Regions from separate parts of the Homo sapiens genome. Here regions 1, 2, 3 and 4 are each linked to region 5. Evidence: promoter capture Hi-C in 16 types of primary human blood cells and fetal thymus (Javierre and others, 2016). All regions are on one chromosome and are shown on one strand. The core of a region is centred on a gene start or on the middle of the fragment in contact, and the rest is flanking DNA. Distances in the headings are between cores, read along the strand shown. Region 1 overlaps RC3H1 (ring finger and CCCH-type domains 1). Region 2 overlaps DARS2 (aspartyl-tRNA synthetase 2, mitochondrial). Region 3 overlaps ZBTB37 (zinc finger and BTB domain containing 37). Region 4 overlaps CENPL (centromere protein L). Region 5 holds the start of PRDX6 (peroxiredoxin 6).

The links. Contacts are between HindIII fragments. The CHiCAGO score rates a contact against its expected background, and 5 or more counts as called.
Region 1: a contact is called between a fragment that was not itself captured here and the fragment with the promoter of PRDX6 in region 5, in 2 of 17 cell types (neutrophils and monocytes). The highest score is 5.7, in neutrophils.
Region 2: a fragment that was not itself captured here is called in contact with the fragment with the promoter of PRDX6 in region 5 in 7 of 17 cell types (megakaryocytes, erythroblasts, fetal thymus and 4 more); the score reaches 9.6 in megakaryocytes.
Region 3: a contact is called between a fragment that was not itself captured here and the fragment with the promoter of PRDX6 in region 5, in 2 of 17 cell types (neutrophils and fetal thymus). The highest score is 8.1, in neutrophils.
Region 4: a contact is called between a fragment that was not itself captured here and the fragment with the promoter of PRDX6 in region 5, in 1 of 17 cell types (megakaryocytes). The highest score is 5.6, in megakaryocytes.

Annotation. Positions count from the first base shown.
Region 1 is chr1:173,985,679-173,988,469 of GRCh38, forward strand. All of the region lies in intron 2 of RC3H1 (ring finger and CCCH-type domains 1), which reads right to left. Among named protein-coding and RNA genes, the nearest start is that of RC3H1, 35 kb to the right of the region's middle. The HindIII fragment of the contact is 2,861 bases long and covers 69-2,791 here.
Region 2 is chr1:173,846,454-173,849,240 of GRCh38, forward strand. The region is part of intron 12 of DARS2 (aspartyl-tRNA synthetase 2, mitochondrial); the gene reads left to right. Among named protein-coding and RNA genes, the nearest start is that of GAS5-AS1, 15 kb to the right of the region's middle. The HindIII fragment of the contact is 1,515 bases long and covers 730-2,244 here.
Region 3 is chr1:173,872,408-173,875,325 of GRCh38, forward strand. ZBTB37 (zinc finger and BTB domain containing 37) reads left to right here. Exons shown (of 5, transcript NM_001122770.3): 4 at 1,060-1,159. Among named protein-coding and RNA genes, the nearest start is that of ZBTB37, 5.5 kb to the left of the region's middle. The HindIII fragment of the contact is 1,484 bases long and covers 803-2,286 here.
Region 4 is chr1:173,801,289-173,804,322 of GRCh38, forward strand. CENPL (centromere protein L) reads right to left here. Exons shown (of 6, transcript NM_001387287.1): 5 at 1,675-2,217. Among named protein-coding and RNA genes, the nearest start is that of DARS2, 22 kb to the right of the region's middle. The HindIII fragment of the contact is 4,338 bases long and covers 1-3,034 here.
Region 5 is chr1:173,475,569-173,478,594 of GRCh38, forward strand. It overlaps PRDX6 (peroxiredoxin 6), which reads left to right and starts at 1,767. Exons shown (of 5, transcript NM_004905.3): 1 at 1,767-1,924. The coding sequence starts at 1,830. LOC100506023 (a long non-coding RNA gene) reads right to left here and starts at 1,587. Exons shown (of 3, transcript NR_037845.1): 1 at 1,064-1,587. RefSeq lists enhancers at 772-1,308, 1,806-1,965 and a silencer at 1,566-1,735. The HindIII fragment of the contact is 1,817 bases long and covers 1,455-3,026 here.

The DNA of each region.
Region 1 (2,791 bases), core at 249-2,748, 510 kb after region 5:
ATGTATTACTATTTATAGTCACTGTTCTGTGCAATAGATCACTAAAGGCATTCCTCCAGTCTAACTGAAGCTTTGTATTCTTTGATAATTATCTCTTCTTCCCATCTACCTTCCTCCCACTTCCCTGTGGTTTTGATTTGTATTTCCCTGATAGCTAATGATGTTGACCATCCTTTCATATGCTTATTATCCATTTGTATATCTTCTCTGGAAGAATATCTATTCAGATCCTTTGCCCATTTTGCCTAGTAAACTTTATTTTGTAGAACAGTTTTAGATTTACAGAAAAATGGCAAAGATAGTACACAGAATTCTCATTATCCTGTATTCAGTTTCCCCTATTATTATTATTATTATTTTTGAGACGGAGTCTCCCTCTGTCACCCAGGCTGGAGTGCAGTGGCACCATCTCGGCTCACTGCAACCTCCGCCTCCTGGGTTCCAGCGATTCTTCTGCCTCAGCCTCCCAAGTAGCTGGGACTACAGGAGCAAGCCACCACACTCGACTAACAATTTCCCCTATTATTAACATCTTACACTGGTATGGTACATTTGTTAAAATTAATGAGCCAATATCAACATATTCATAATTAACAACTAAAATCCATGTTAATCAGATATTAGTTTTCACCTAATGTTCTTTCTCAGTTTCAGGATCCCATCCAGGATACCATATTACACTTAGTCTTCAGAGAAAGAGTCTCGCTCTGTCACTCAGGCTGGAGTGCCGTGGCAGCATCTGGGCTCACGCCACCACACCCAGCTAATTTTGTATTTTATTGTAGAGATGGAGGTCCCACTACATTGCCCAGACTGGCCTCGAATTCCTGGGCTCAAGCCATCCACCCACCTTGGCCTCCCTCTCTCCCTCCATGTCTCTCCCTCTTTTTTTTTTCAAAGTTGAGACAAAGTCTCACTCTGTCGCCCAGATTGGAGTACAGTGGCACAATCTCGGCTCACTGCAACTTCCACCTCCCAGGTTCAAGAGATTCTCATGCCTCAGCCTCCTGAGTAGCTGGGATTACAGGCATGCGCCACCACGCCTGGCTGATTCTGTGTATTTTTAGTAGAGACAGGATTTCACTGTGTTGGCCAGGCTGGTCTCCAACTCCTGGCCTCAAGTGATCTGCCTGCCTTGGCCTCTCAAAGCGCTGGGATTACAGGTGTGAGCCACTGCGCTAGCCCTTCAATATCTCTTTAAGCTCCTCTTGGCTTGGACACTTTCTCAGACTTTCCTTGTTTTAATGACCTTGACAGTTTTGAGGAGCACTGGTCTGGTATGTTGTAGAATGCCCCTAAACTGGGATCTAGGATCTGTCATTTTTCTCATGAGTATATTGGGGTTATGGATTTTTGGAAGATCATAGGGGAAAAGTGCCATTTTTTATCACATCATATCAAAGCTACACACCACCAACACAACTTATTATTGCTGATGTTAAATTTGAACAGCTGGTTTAGTCAGTGTTTACCAGGTTTCTCCACTATAAAGTTACATAATCTCCACAAACTGTACTTTTTGGAAGGAGTCACTATGCGTAGCCCACACACATTCTACATCCTTGAGAGCAGAATATCTATGTAATTAATTTGGAATTCTGCACGGGAGATTTGTTTCTTTCTTCCATCTATTTATTCAATCATTTAATTGTATCGTGTAGACTCAAGGATATTTATCTTATACCTGGGTTATGATCCAATTCCATTTATTTTGTTGTTCAAACTGTTTTAGCTTTGGCCATTGAGAGCTCTTTCAGTTGGCTCCTGTGTGCCTTTGATATAGCCCCCATTACTCTGTGTATGTGTCTGTGTGTGTTTTGAATACTTCTCTATACTTTCCAGTGCTACAAGCTACTCCAGACTCATTTCGTGTATTTCCTGTCCCAGTCTTAGAATTAGCCATTTCTCCAAGGAACTCTGGTTCCTTTTATTGGAGAATGGTATTAGAAACCAAGATATGAATGCTATGTATGCACATTACTATTGGGGTGTTGTTCCTTCTAGGCCATCTTAGATGACAGACCAAGGAAATATGTCACTGTAATAACCCGAGATATACATTGTAATAACCCGAGATACACACGAGATATCTCGTATATCTATTTCTGTATATAACCATCTGTATCCATATCAAGCTAAAAATGAGTTCATACTGATGCCTCCAACTCCAATCCATTATCACATGAATCACTCTAACCTCTTCCTCCTTGTTTATCTGTTAACTGGCTCCAATCATTTCCCATTCACTTACTTAACTGTTCAATTCTAATATGTATTATACATACAGCAGTATCAGAATTAATTCGTACCCCCATGGGAAAAGACTAGAGTACACTGCTTATAGATAATATCTTTCTCTATCTTTAATCTTACACAATCTACCTTTCTCCTACACCCCTTTAGTGAAATTGTTTCATATACTTCAGATTGTCTTCCATAATCTTTGTAAAGTTCTACAGTTTTTGACAAATTCAGAGTGTCATATAGCCACAATTACAGAATCATAAAGAACTGTTTTACTGCCCTAAGAAATACTGTTTCACCAATTCTATCCTCCCTCCCTACTCCTGAATCCATGGCAACCACTGATACTTTTATTGTTGCTATGGTTTTACCTTTTACAGATATCACATAATTGGAATCATACAGTATGTGGCCTTTTCATACTGGTATCTTTCACTTAGCAATGGTATACATTGAGATATATCTATGTCTTTTTGTGACTTGACAGCTATGTCTTTTCATTATTTCATTTTATACAATGTGCCATTGTATGGATATACCACTGTTT
Region 2 (2,787 bases), core at 237-2,736, 370 kb after region 5:
TGCATTCTTGCCTGGGTGACAGAGTGAGACCCTGTCTCTAAAAAAAATAAAGGATCCAGCCAGGCACGGAAGCGCATACCTGTAATCCCAGCACTTTGGGAGCCCAAGGTGGGAGTATCACTGGAGCCCAGAAGTTTGAGACCAGCCTGGGCAACATAGTGAGACCTCGTCTCTACAAAAAACAGAAAAAAAATTAGCTGGGCATGGTGGCACACACCTGTCATCCCAACTACTTGAGAGGCTGAGGTGGGAGGATCACTTGAGCCCAGGAGATCGAGGCTGCAGTGAGCTGTGTTCACCCCACCGCACTCCAGCCTGGGTGACACAGTGAGACCCTGTCTCAAAAAAAAAGGAAAGAATCTTAGGTATGATAACAGGAATAAAATGAAACCATATAGGAGTAATTAAATTATGCTATAATCAAAGGAATTAATATTAAAGTTCCTATTTAAAATCTTGTTTTCTAAGACTTAATAGAGGAAAAATGCTCTTATAATGATATGTAAGAAAAGGAGGCTATAGGACTATATTTATACTGATTATAACCATGTAAAAACACTATATTTGTATATTGAAAATGGACTACCTACCTCTACTACCACTATTTCCCAAGCCTCATACCTCAAGCACAACGAACAATAAGTAGATTTTTATATAAGAAAAAAAGATCAGGTTAGTGGTTCCCAAAATGGGTTGAGACAAAATCAGAAAAGTCAGGGCAATATAACAAGCTTTTCATAAAGTTAAACAAATTTAAAGAACTATCCTTTTTTTCTCTGTCGGCGGTGGGGATGGCGGGGGGATGAAATATGTCTTTTCTTTATAAAATTAAAAATTGGCAACCCTTTATCTTCCAATTTTGTTTATTTTTATTTTATTAGTATATAAAATCTGCATCTAAGAACCATAGGACCAGGAAATAAGCCTGAAGGTTAACTTTGGCAGCTTTCAGTTGATGGGACTATTATTACATTTTCTTCTTTCATTCTTCTCTCTCTTCTCCTGTTTTCTTTTTCTTTCCTAATTTCCTGAACTTTTATATAAGAAATGGGTATTACTACTACTATTTTTTATGAGTGTTTTAACTTGATTTGGCTTCTAATTGCTTTCAGAAGATCTTATGTGTTTTTAGCAACATATGGCATACACATGGTTCAAAAAATAAAGAACCATTAATGATGAAATGCAATAATCATTTGCTCTAGCCTGCCCCATCCATCCTAGTATTCTGCCAGAGTATCTCTGTTTTTGGAAATATCTCTACATACTTTTTTTTTCTTTTTACTTAATTCATTTAAACCTTGTTAACTTCCTGTCATGAGAGATGAGGCTCACATATACAGACCTCACCTAGTTACTCTGTACCTTCTGCACAGCTGTCTTTCTGAACCTTTTTTTTTTTTTTTTTTTTTTTTTGAGACGGGAGTCTCACTCTGTCGCCCAGGCTGGAGTGCAGTGGTGCCATCTCGGCTCACTGCAAGCTCCGCCTCCCAGGTTCACGCCGTTCTTCTGCCTCAGCCTCCTGACTAGCTGGGACTACAGGCGCCCGCGACCACGCCCGGCTAATTTTTTTGTATTTTTACTAGAGATGGGGTTTCGCTGTGTTAGCCAGGATGGTCTCCATCTCCTGACCTCGTGATCCGCCCACCTCGGCCTCCCAAAGTGGTGGGATTACAGGCGTGAGCCACCGTGCCCGGCCCTTTTCTTCATTCTTTTCTGAGTTGAAGCCACCCATCCTGGATCCCAGGTTTTCCTCTTTCTTTTTTGTGTTGGAGTATGTAATCAAGTAACTTCCTAAGAAAGCATGTGAGAGATCAACTTACTGAGTTCTTACAAAATGTCTTTATGTTTAAAACCTCACACTTGATCAATAATAATTTGGCTTAGTACAAAATTTTGAATTGACAGCCATATCATCTTAGAAGAGTGCTGTCCAATAAAACTTTCTGTAATGATGGAAACGTTTTATGTCTGCATTGTTCGGTGTAGTTGTTGCTAGCCAATGTCGCTAGTGAACACTTGAAATAGGATAGTACAACTAAAGGGCTGAACTTTTTACTTTATTTCATTTTAATTAATTTAAATGTAAATAGCAACAGTGCATTGCTAGACAGCACAGCTTTAGAACATTTAAGGCATTGCTTTACTTTCTTCTCCCATCTGTTGTTACTGATGAGAAGTCTGATGCTTTGATGCTTGTGTGAATTTATTCCATTATAGCAGAGCTGGTTTTTTCTCATTGGAAGCTTTTTGCCTTCTGATTCTTTATGTTCTGAAATTTCAGAGTTTGTTTGCCTTTTGATCATTTTTCATTTAATGTGTTACACACTTGAAGAGCCCTTTCAATACGAAGGTTTATGTCTTTTTATGTGTAGAAAATTATTTTATTATCTAATGATTTTGACCTCATCATTTTTTCTAGTCTCTCTTTGGAATTTCTACTAGTTGTATGTCAAACCAATTTAACCTCTTTTCTTTTGCATGTCATTTTTCACCATTTTCTTTGTCTTGTTCTATTTTCCTGGGGATTTCTTCAACTCTTCTGTTGAATTTTTTTTTATTTCCCAGTAGCTTTTTTCACTGCATCTTATTCTGGTTTTATTCATAAAATATATTTTTGAGTACCTTTGAGGATTCAAGTTCTCTTTTGGTCCATAACTTATGTTTTCTCTGGGGCTAATTTTTTGGGTTTATCTTGGTCTTTTTTTTTTTTTTAATGCTGCAGAGTTTCTTCAATGTACAGTGATTGTTGGTTATCTGTACATATTCAAGAAAGGGGCATTTTAA
Region 3 (2,918 bases), core at 295-2,794, 400 kb after region 5:
TGTTGCCCAGGTTAGAGTGCAGTGGTGCAATCTTGGCTCACTGCAGCCTCTACCTCTTGGGTTCAGGCGTTTCTCCTGCCACTGTGCCTGGCTTCAGGTGATCTTGATTTGAGTATTGTCTTCCTGTGTCCTTATTAAAATAATCTTGAGCATAGAACTTGTCCTCCTATGTTAGAACTGTATCAGAAGTTCTCGGGTGATGGGTGCACCAAAATCTCACAAATCACCAAAGAACTTACTTATGTAACCAGATACCACCTGTTCCATGATAACTTATGGAAATAAAATTTTAAAAAAAACTATCAGAAGTAATATCAGGGCCAGGTGTGGTGGCTCACACCTGTGATCCCAGCACTTTGGGAGGCTGAGGCAGGTGGATCACTTGAGGCCAGGACTTTGAGACCAGCCTGGCCAACATGGTGAATCCCATCTCTACTAAAAATACAAAAATTAGCTGAGCGTGGTGGCACGCACCTGTAGTCTCAGCTACTGGGCCAGCTGAGGCAGGAGAATCGCTTGAACCCAGGAAGTGGAGGTTGCAGTTAGCTGGGATCACGCCACTGTACTCCAGCCTGGGCAACAGAGCAAGACTCTGTCTCAAAAAAAAAAAAAAAGTAATATCAATTTCAATGCAAAGATTTTTTAATCTCCATGATCTATATCAATAGTCTAAAATACAGATTATTATGGGACCTTGGGGAAGAAACAGCCAAAAACCTGGTAATTACGTAGAAGAAACAAAATTATAGGCCCCGTTTTAATTTATTCTTTTATGGTCTCCCAGTATTTATATAAGGAAGAAAGCTTATATTTAGCTTTAGCTTCACCAGCTCATATGTTCTATCTGTTATGTCATTTTGTGTTTATTAAATTTACTAGGGCTAACCTATTATTTCAAATCAGATTATGTATTAACTCCACAAAACTATTCCTCAGTTATTTGTTGCTTGGTTTGTTCCCCCTTCCTCAGCCATAGAATAAAGAGGGGCGACATCACCATTTTTCAGGTTCTTTGATGCTGCTTTTGTATTAGTCCCCTTTATGTTCCTCTTCCAACAGATTTAGCCCCTCCGGCAGTGTTGTTCCCTTGACAGAGAGACACAGAGCCAGAAGTGAGTCTCCTGGGAGAATGGATGAGCCTAAGCAACCCAGCTCCCAGGTATGGAGTTGTGGATTTAGAACTGCTTTGGTGGTTGGAGGAATTGCTACTGTGTATGAATAGAAAATAATGAAAAAGAAAAGATGTAGGAGAGGTAACAATGGCCCTGTTAAAGAAATACTGTATTTTTTTTCCCTGAGGGTAGCAGAAGTTTAATATTAAAATTATACAGAGACATCACCAGAAAGGAAAATTGCAGACTGGTATTTCTACCAAGCATAGATGCAAATATTTTGAAAAGAACATTAACAAATTAACACTGATAGCTGGTTTAACATTTTAAAATTAATCATTGTAATCTGTTTCATTAATAAGGAAAAAGTGATAAATTACATGTGGCAATTTTGATAAATACAGAAAAGAACAATTGGCTAAAACTCTTAGCAAACTAGAAATACAAGGGAACTGGCCGGGCGCAGTGGCTCGCGCCTGTAATCCCAGCACTTTGGGAGGCCGAGGCAGGTGGATCACCTGAGGTCCGGAGTTCGAGACCAGCTTGACCAACATGGAGAAAACCCGTCTCTACTAAAAATACAAAATTACCCAGGCATGGTGGCACGTGCCCGTGATCCCAACTACTCCAGAGGCTGAGGCAGGACAATGGCTTGAACCCGGGAGGCGGAGGTTGCTGTGAGCCGAGATCACACCATTGCACTCCAGCCTGGGCCACAAGAGTGAAACTCCGTCTCAAAAAAAAAAAAAAAAAAGAAATACAAGGGAACTTTCTTAATCTGATTGAAAGTATCTATCTAAAAAATCTATAGAAAACATCTTTTTTTTTTTTTTGAGACGGAGTCTCGAGTCTCACCCTGTCGCCCAGGCTGGAGTGCATGGAGTGCAGTGGTGCAATCTCGGCTCACTGCAAGCTCCACCTCCCGGGTTCACGCCATTCTCCTGCCTCAGCCTCCCAAGTAGCTGGGACTACAGGCACCTGCCACCACGCCCGGCTAATTATTTGTATTTTTGAGTAGAGACGGGGTTTCACCGTGTTAGCCAGGGTGGTTTCGATCTCCTGACCTCATGATCCGCCTGCCTCGGCCTCCCAAAATGCTGGGATTACAGGTGTGAGCCACTGCACCCAGCCACTGCACCCAGCCCAGAAAACATCTTAATAGTAAATTATTGAAAGCTTCCTTCGTGTGATTGGGAATGAGACAGAATGTCTGCTACCACCACTTCTACCCAGCTTTTTATTTGTAGTCCTAGTCAATGCAATAAAGCAAGAAATACAAATTTATAGCATAAGGATGACAAAGCAAGAAATAGAACTTTTGTTATTAGTAGACAGCCTGACTTGTTATGTAAAAAATGCAAAGTTAAATACTGTATTTGATTACTTTTTTTTTAAAATTCTTGCTTGTGGGCGTGCAGGAAAATACACTTTCGATGTCAGCAGAGTTTGGGAAATATAAAAAAGTAAGATTGTGGAACTCTTTCCTGATTATAATAACCACACTGTAGACCTGATAGTAATAAAAAATAATCCCAGAAAACCACATACAGGTAATTTGCAGGTAATTTAGGACCTGGAATCGAAAGTCTGATTATTATGTGTGTGTGTGTGTGTGTGTGTGTGTGTGTGTGTGTGTGTGTGCACGTGTGTACTGTATATACTATATGTAGTATACACACACTATGTATACTATAGTATGCACACACTATATATACTATATATACTATGCGTAGTATACACACACACACAGTTATGAAGTTACTAATTTGTAGCATTTTATTTATATATATATGTGTGCATATATAT
Region 4 (3,034 bases), core at 268-2,767, 330 kb after region 5:
GGTGGATCACTAGGTCAGGAGTTTGAGACCAGCCTGGCCAACATGGTGAAACCCCATCTCTACTAAAAATACAAAAATTAGCCAAGTATGGTGGTGGAGCCTGTAATCCCAGCTACTCGGGAGGCTGAGGCAGGAGAATTGCTTGAACCCAGGAGGCGGAGGCTGCAGTAAGCCAAGATCACACCACTGCACACCAGTCTAGGCAACAAAACAAGACTCCATCTCGAAGGAAAAAAAAAAAAATCTAACTAGCCAGGCATGGTGGCTCATGCCTGTAATCCCAACACTTTAGGAGGCCAAGGCAAGTGGATCATTTGAGGTCAGGAGTTCAAGACCAGCCTGGCCAACATGGTGAAACCTCATCTCTACTAAAAATACAAAAATAGCTGGGCATGGTGGCAGGCACCTGTAGTCCCAGCTACTCGGGAGACTGAGGCAGGAGAATCACTTAAACCCAGGAGGCGGAAGTTGCAGTGAGTTGAGATTGCACCACTGCACCCCAGCCTGGGTGACAGAGTAAGACTCCGTCTCAAAATAAATAAATAAATAAAGATAAAAATAGTAAAAAAAGTAAAATTACAAAAATTAGCCAGGTGTAGTGGCTCATGCTTGTAGTCCCAGCTACTCAGGAGGCTGAGGCACGAGAATCGCTTGAGCCTAGGAGGCAGAGGTTGTAGTTAGCTGAGATAGCACCACTGCACTCCAGCCTGGGTGATGGGGTGAGATTCTGTCTCAAAAAAAAAAACAAAAAGCACACACAGAAAAAACACCTAACTACAGGGTTGCTCTAAAGATTAGAATTTAAGTCTGTTAAACTCTTAGCACAGTAACAAGATCACAGGAAACATTTACTGAATGTACATTGTGGCTGTGTATTTTAATATATTTTAGGAGCCAATTCTCAGTTTATTTCTGATACTTTTTTTTTTTCTTTTGAGACGGAGTCTCGCTCTGTCACCCAGGCTGGAGTGCAGTGGCGCGATCTCGGCTCACTACAAGCTCCGCCTCTCGGGTTCACACCATTCTCCTGCCTCAGCCTCCCCCAGTAGCTGGGACTACAGATGCCCACCACCACGCCTGGCTAATTTTTTGTATTTTTAGTGGAGACGGGGTTTCACCGTGTTAGCCAGCATGGTCTCAATCTCCTGACCTCATGATCCGCCCGCCTCGGCCTCCCAAAGTGCTGGGATTACAGGCGTGAGCCACCATGCCTGGCCTATTTCTGATACTTCTTATCAGAAATCACTCTGTAGAGAATAAAACAATGTCTCTATTATTTCTTTCCCAATGAGGACAGAAAAGCCTGGAACATAAAGATGACATCTTAGTTCTGTGTTTCTGGCTATAATTTTGTCTAACACAAAATTCTCTATTACTCTGATAATTATTTCAAAATTTCACAAGGAACAATTCTGAAAGTTTCAAAGTTACTACAAAATAATAATTCACATTATTACCAAAAGCTGAAGCACACAGCATATAGTGTCCTTCCATTATAAGGCTATATCTAGAAGGCTAAAGACTGCAATAAACCATAAACCATAAAATAAAAGCTCTCTATTGTCTTGAATACATTCAAGTGTGTTTCTTCAATTGAGTGGACAATACAATCATCATACATTTTTAAAACCATAAAACAAGGAAAAATTACTTAACTAGATTGTTCAAACTAACCTTTATTTTTCCATCAGTATGTGCTGAAGCTACAGATGTTGAAACACGAACTAATCTTGTGGCTGATAAATGAATTTTGAAATGTCTATGGAAATGTGAATAAAGGCAATCCATGAATAGGTCAACTTCTTCCTGGGTAACCTCCCCAGGTGTTTTGTGGACACTGTCCCATAGAGCTTTTGCATCCTCTGGATGTATTGCGAAAGAAATGTCCAGACTTTGAGGGCTACAGGGTACAGACCAAAGAAATTCAGTAGTAGCCACATAATGGTCCATTTTGCATGCAGTCCACATGGCAGCCATCCAGGAAAGATTAAATGCATTGATTGCTAAAGGACTGAAATAACAGTCAAAGGTTTTCTGAAACCAAGTTCCAATTATTGCTGTGTTAGACTCTGCTCCATTTGCAAGGAATAAGGGCAGACAGGTGAAATCTTCTGAAACAGTCTCCAGAAGACTGTCTCCAAATACACAGCAGAACCAGCCAGTCCACAGCACTTTACCTTCTCTATTCTCAGATGGCAATTGAGATTTTGACACAATCTACAAAGAAAGTAAACAGGCTCCTTAAATTCAAAAGTACATTTACTTCTAAATTCCATCTTCTCAAAATTAGTTCATTAAAAATAAGACGAGCCAATGTAATACTTGCAAAAAAAAACATAGAGGGAATAGTCTCCCTAATGATTAACAGGGCTTATCAAAATAATTGGCCTTTTTTTTTTTTGAGATGGAGTCTCACTCTGTCGCCCAGGCTGGAGTGCGGTGGCGTGATCTCAGCTCACTGCAACCTCCACCTCCTGGGTTCAAGTGATTCTCCGGCCTCAGCCTCCCAAGTAGCTGGGATTACAGGCATGCACCACCATGCCCAGCTAATTTTTGTATTTTTAGTAGGGATGGGGTTTCACTGTATTGGTCAGGCTGGTCTCCAACCTCTGACCTCAGGTGATCTGCCCACCTCGGCCACCCAAAGTACTAGGATTATAGGCGTGAGCTACCAGGCCCGGCCCCCAATATTCTTATACAGTGGAAACATGATATATGGCAAAATCTTGGTGTAACCAAACTGCAAAATAAGAGCTACCAATATGGCATAACCAGGTGTAGTACCCTGAAACAAACAAACAAAAAAAACCCCTCAACTTTAGAAAGAACTGTGAAAGGTCACAAAATCTAACATGTTTGAATTCTTTCATTGAGGAAGGCTTCAATATTTCCTAAGGCAGCACTATCAACTTAAAATGTTCTTTTATATGTTAGACCCTACAGTTTCTACCCACTGGTCCTGCTTTCTTCCTTTTGGGCATGCAGAATATAATCACATCTGATCTCTCTTCTACAGGAAAAGTCCTTCAAATAT
Region 5 (3,026 bases), core at 517-3,016:
GCCTTTGACAGACATCAATAATCTGTTTCTGTATTCATTCTCCATATTTATAGAGTATTGTGTTTTCTAGCTGATTTCCACAACATATTGTTAACAGTGCCTTAGGCCAAACTACTCTTCTTTCCCAACTATTCTCTTTCTTCCCTACAAAGGGAGTTAAAACAAGGAGCTGTTAAAACTTGGAGCCAAATTAGAGATTAAATTACATTAGCTTTAAACGGTTTTGTGAAGTGGCTAGAAATTTTTACCAGTAATCTTACTGCAAGTCCTGGGTCACTGAAGAACTCGGTAAATATGATTAGCATGCACGCACCAACACATCACTGTGATGAAAACGCAAATCACAGTATGTGAGTCACTACTCTCAACATTGCCATGCCCCTGCCTTAAACCTGCCAGCCCCATCCAGAGGATTTTTCTCATCTCTGAACTCCAATCATTTACACCTTCCCCCATCAGAATTTACCCTACATTTTATTATAATTGCATATAAATATGCCTTCCCTGTAACAGCAGGGACTGTGTTTCTCCACTGTATGGCCTGGCACAGTGTCCAGCACACAGCAGGCAAAGCAAGAGTTACTGCATGAGCCAGTGTCATCATCCAAACGATAGCTACCATTTCCAGAGCACCTACCGTGAGCTGACTAGTTTACCTACATTATCCTGGTGGCTTTCCCAGACCAGACCACCCAAACCAAAGCAGCCCCCCAGTCACCCTCTAGGCACATAACCCTATTTTAGTTCTCTGAATACGACTGATTGCTGTCTAACATATTTTGGTTTGTGTGCTTATTGTCTGTCACCGGTTTCCCTTCACAAGAAGGAAAGCTCCAAGAGGACAGGCATCTTATCTACCTTGTACTTGGCTCATAGCAAATAAATGAATCTAAGCCGCCCACCTCCCTGGGTGACAGAGTTGACCTGCACACAGTAGGTCTCAAAGAGTATGTTTTAAATTTTATATTTAGATTTCAAGATAATTGTGTTGAATATTTTATGGTTCATAACAAACAGAAAGGGGAGGGCAGAATAAAAATAAATAAAAGTTTAGTTACATTACCCTAGCACTGACATTGGTACGGGAATTTTTGCTGCAATAAGAAAGCCACTTCCTCTGACATAAGGTCACCCATACTTCTGGGTCTTGCCACATCCTCTTAGACAGTTCATCGTAGCTGGGCTGGCTGGGGCGGTCAGGACTCCAGACGCTCACACTAAAAGAGGGGTGGTAGTCGAGCAGTCACTCCACTCCTCTGTAGGGAGCTGGCCGCGAGTGGGTGCGCAGCAGGGTGCGCGCGGACCCGTGCAGCGCCCAGGGCGGCTGTGCGAAGCCGCCGCAGCCTGCGCGCCCAGGCGATTCTCCACCTTGGGGCTCGCCTTCCTGCCGCGTTCCTCTTCCTTCCATCCCTAAAGCGCGTACGCCCTGCAGAGTCAAACCTGGCGCATCCTCAAGCTTCCAGGGGGCAACGTGACCGAGCCCCGCATCACGTGTGCAGAGACGGCCTATAGTGTCTGAAGGATGCCACCTAGTCGCAGGCCCGGCGGCGCCACCAACAGCGACCGCGGTAGTCCAGCTCGCGCCGCGTCCCGGCCCCAGCCCGGCCCGGCCCAGCCCCGCCCCGCGCCCAGCCCCGCCCCGCCCCGCGCCCAGCCCAGCCCCCGCGGCCCGGCCCCCAGCGGCCGGCCTCCCGCGGCCCCGCCCCCGCCGCCCCAGTCCCCGCCCCTCGCGCCTTCGTTTATTCCTCCGCGCGCTGGGACAGGCTGCTTCTTCGCCAGAACCAACCGGTTGCTTGCTGTCCCAGCGGCGCCCCCTCATCACCGTCGCCATGCCCGGAGGTCTGCTTCTCGGGGACGTGGCTCCCAACTTTGAGGCCAATACCACCGTCGGCCGCATCCGTTTCCACGACTTTCTGGGAGACTCGTAAGTGGCCACCGCGTAGCCCTGTCCTGGCCTCGGTTGCGCCGGACTCGGAGGTGCCTTCCCTGTTTCTTCTCCCTGCCGTCCTCCCGGCCGCTCAGCCCCCTGCGCCGCCCTCGCCTTCCCCCGCACTGGTTCCGGCGCGCGCCAGGCCGTGTGGCCTCTGCTCAGCGTCGGCTGCGCTGCTGGGAGCTGGCACCCGTTCGGCCTGCCCTGCGCGGGCCACTCGATCCCTCCTGGCCTCCCCGCCTCCGGCGTGGCTGGGCAAGGCCACGCCAAGGTGGGGGGTGGGGAGGATAAAATTGTGTTCTGCGGGTTCTGGAAACTCACCGCCCGCGGGAGGGTTTGTTGTCCATTTAACTCGTCTTAGTAAACTGTGCAGGTAGCGTGGTCAGGCCGAGGGCGCAGGGGCGGGGCGGCATTGACGATCACTTCCCCGGACTAGTGCCCAGGGTCGCACCGCCCTCCCACCCTCCGTTCTGGAATTTGCTCCCTGGGGAGGATGGGTGTCTAAAGCCAAAGTCGGAGGACACAGCTGCTGGCTATAGGTTACAGGAAGGCCAACGTATCATCTGAGGGTGCAGTGGTATTTGCAGGCTTCTGGGCACAAAATGTGAAATTTAAAACCACTAGCTGCCAAGTAGGTGGCCGAAAGACTTTTTGTCCAGAGCCGCCTCCAATGGCCAAGATATGATTTGATAACAGCTTTAGGAAGAGCCAAGAACACTCTGCGTAGGTGTGCCTTCAGAGATTCCAGAACTTGCAACACTTGGAGGGAAGGACTTTCTGACGCTGTTCCGCTGGAGTGGCCTATTCTTGCTAGTGATGGCCGTTCCAGGCTCCAGGACACGTGTACTCCCCAACTTTGAGACTCTCTTGTTTTCCAGTGGCTTGCCCCTCACTGTCCCCTCCGCTTTCTACCTTGCTTCTAGCACATGAGCTTGCTGATGATAGCCAAATTGATGACCTGTGATCTGACTTGGCAGTTTTACCATTATGGATAGGAGTAGTAAATCGGTGTTGCCCTTTTTTTTTTTTAACAGCTCCTGAATCAGCAAACTGGAAGTTGCTTAGTTTTCATCAGAAGCATTCCAGGCATGTCTAG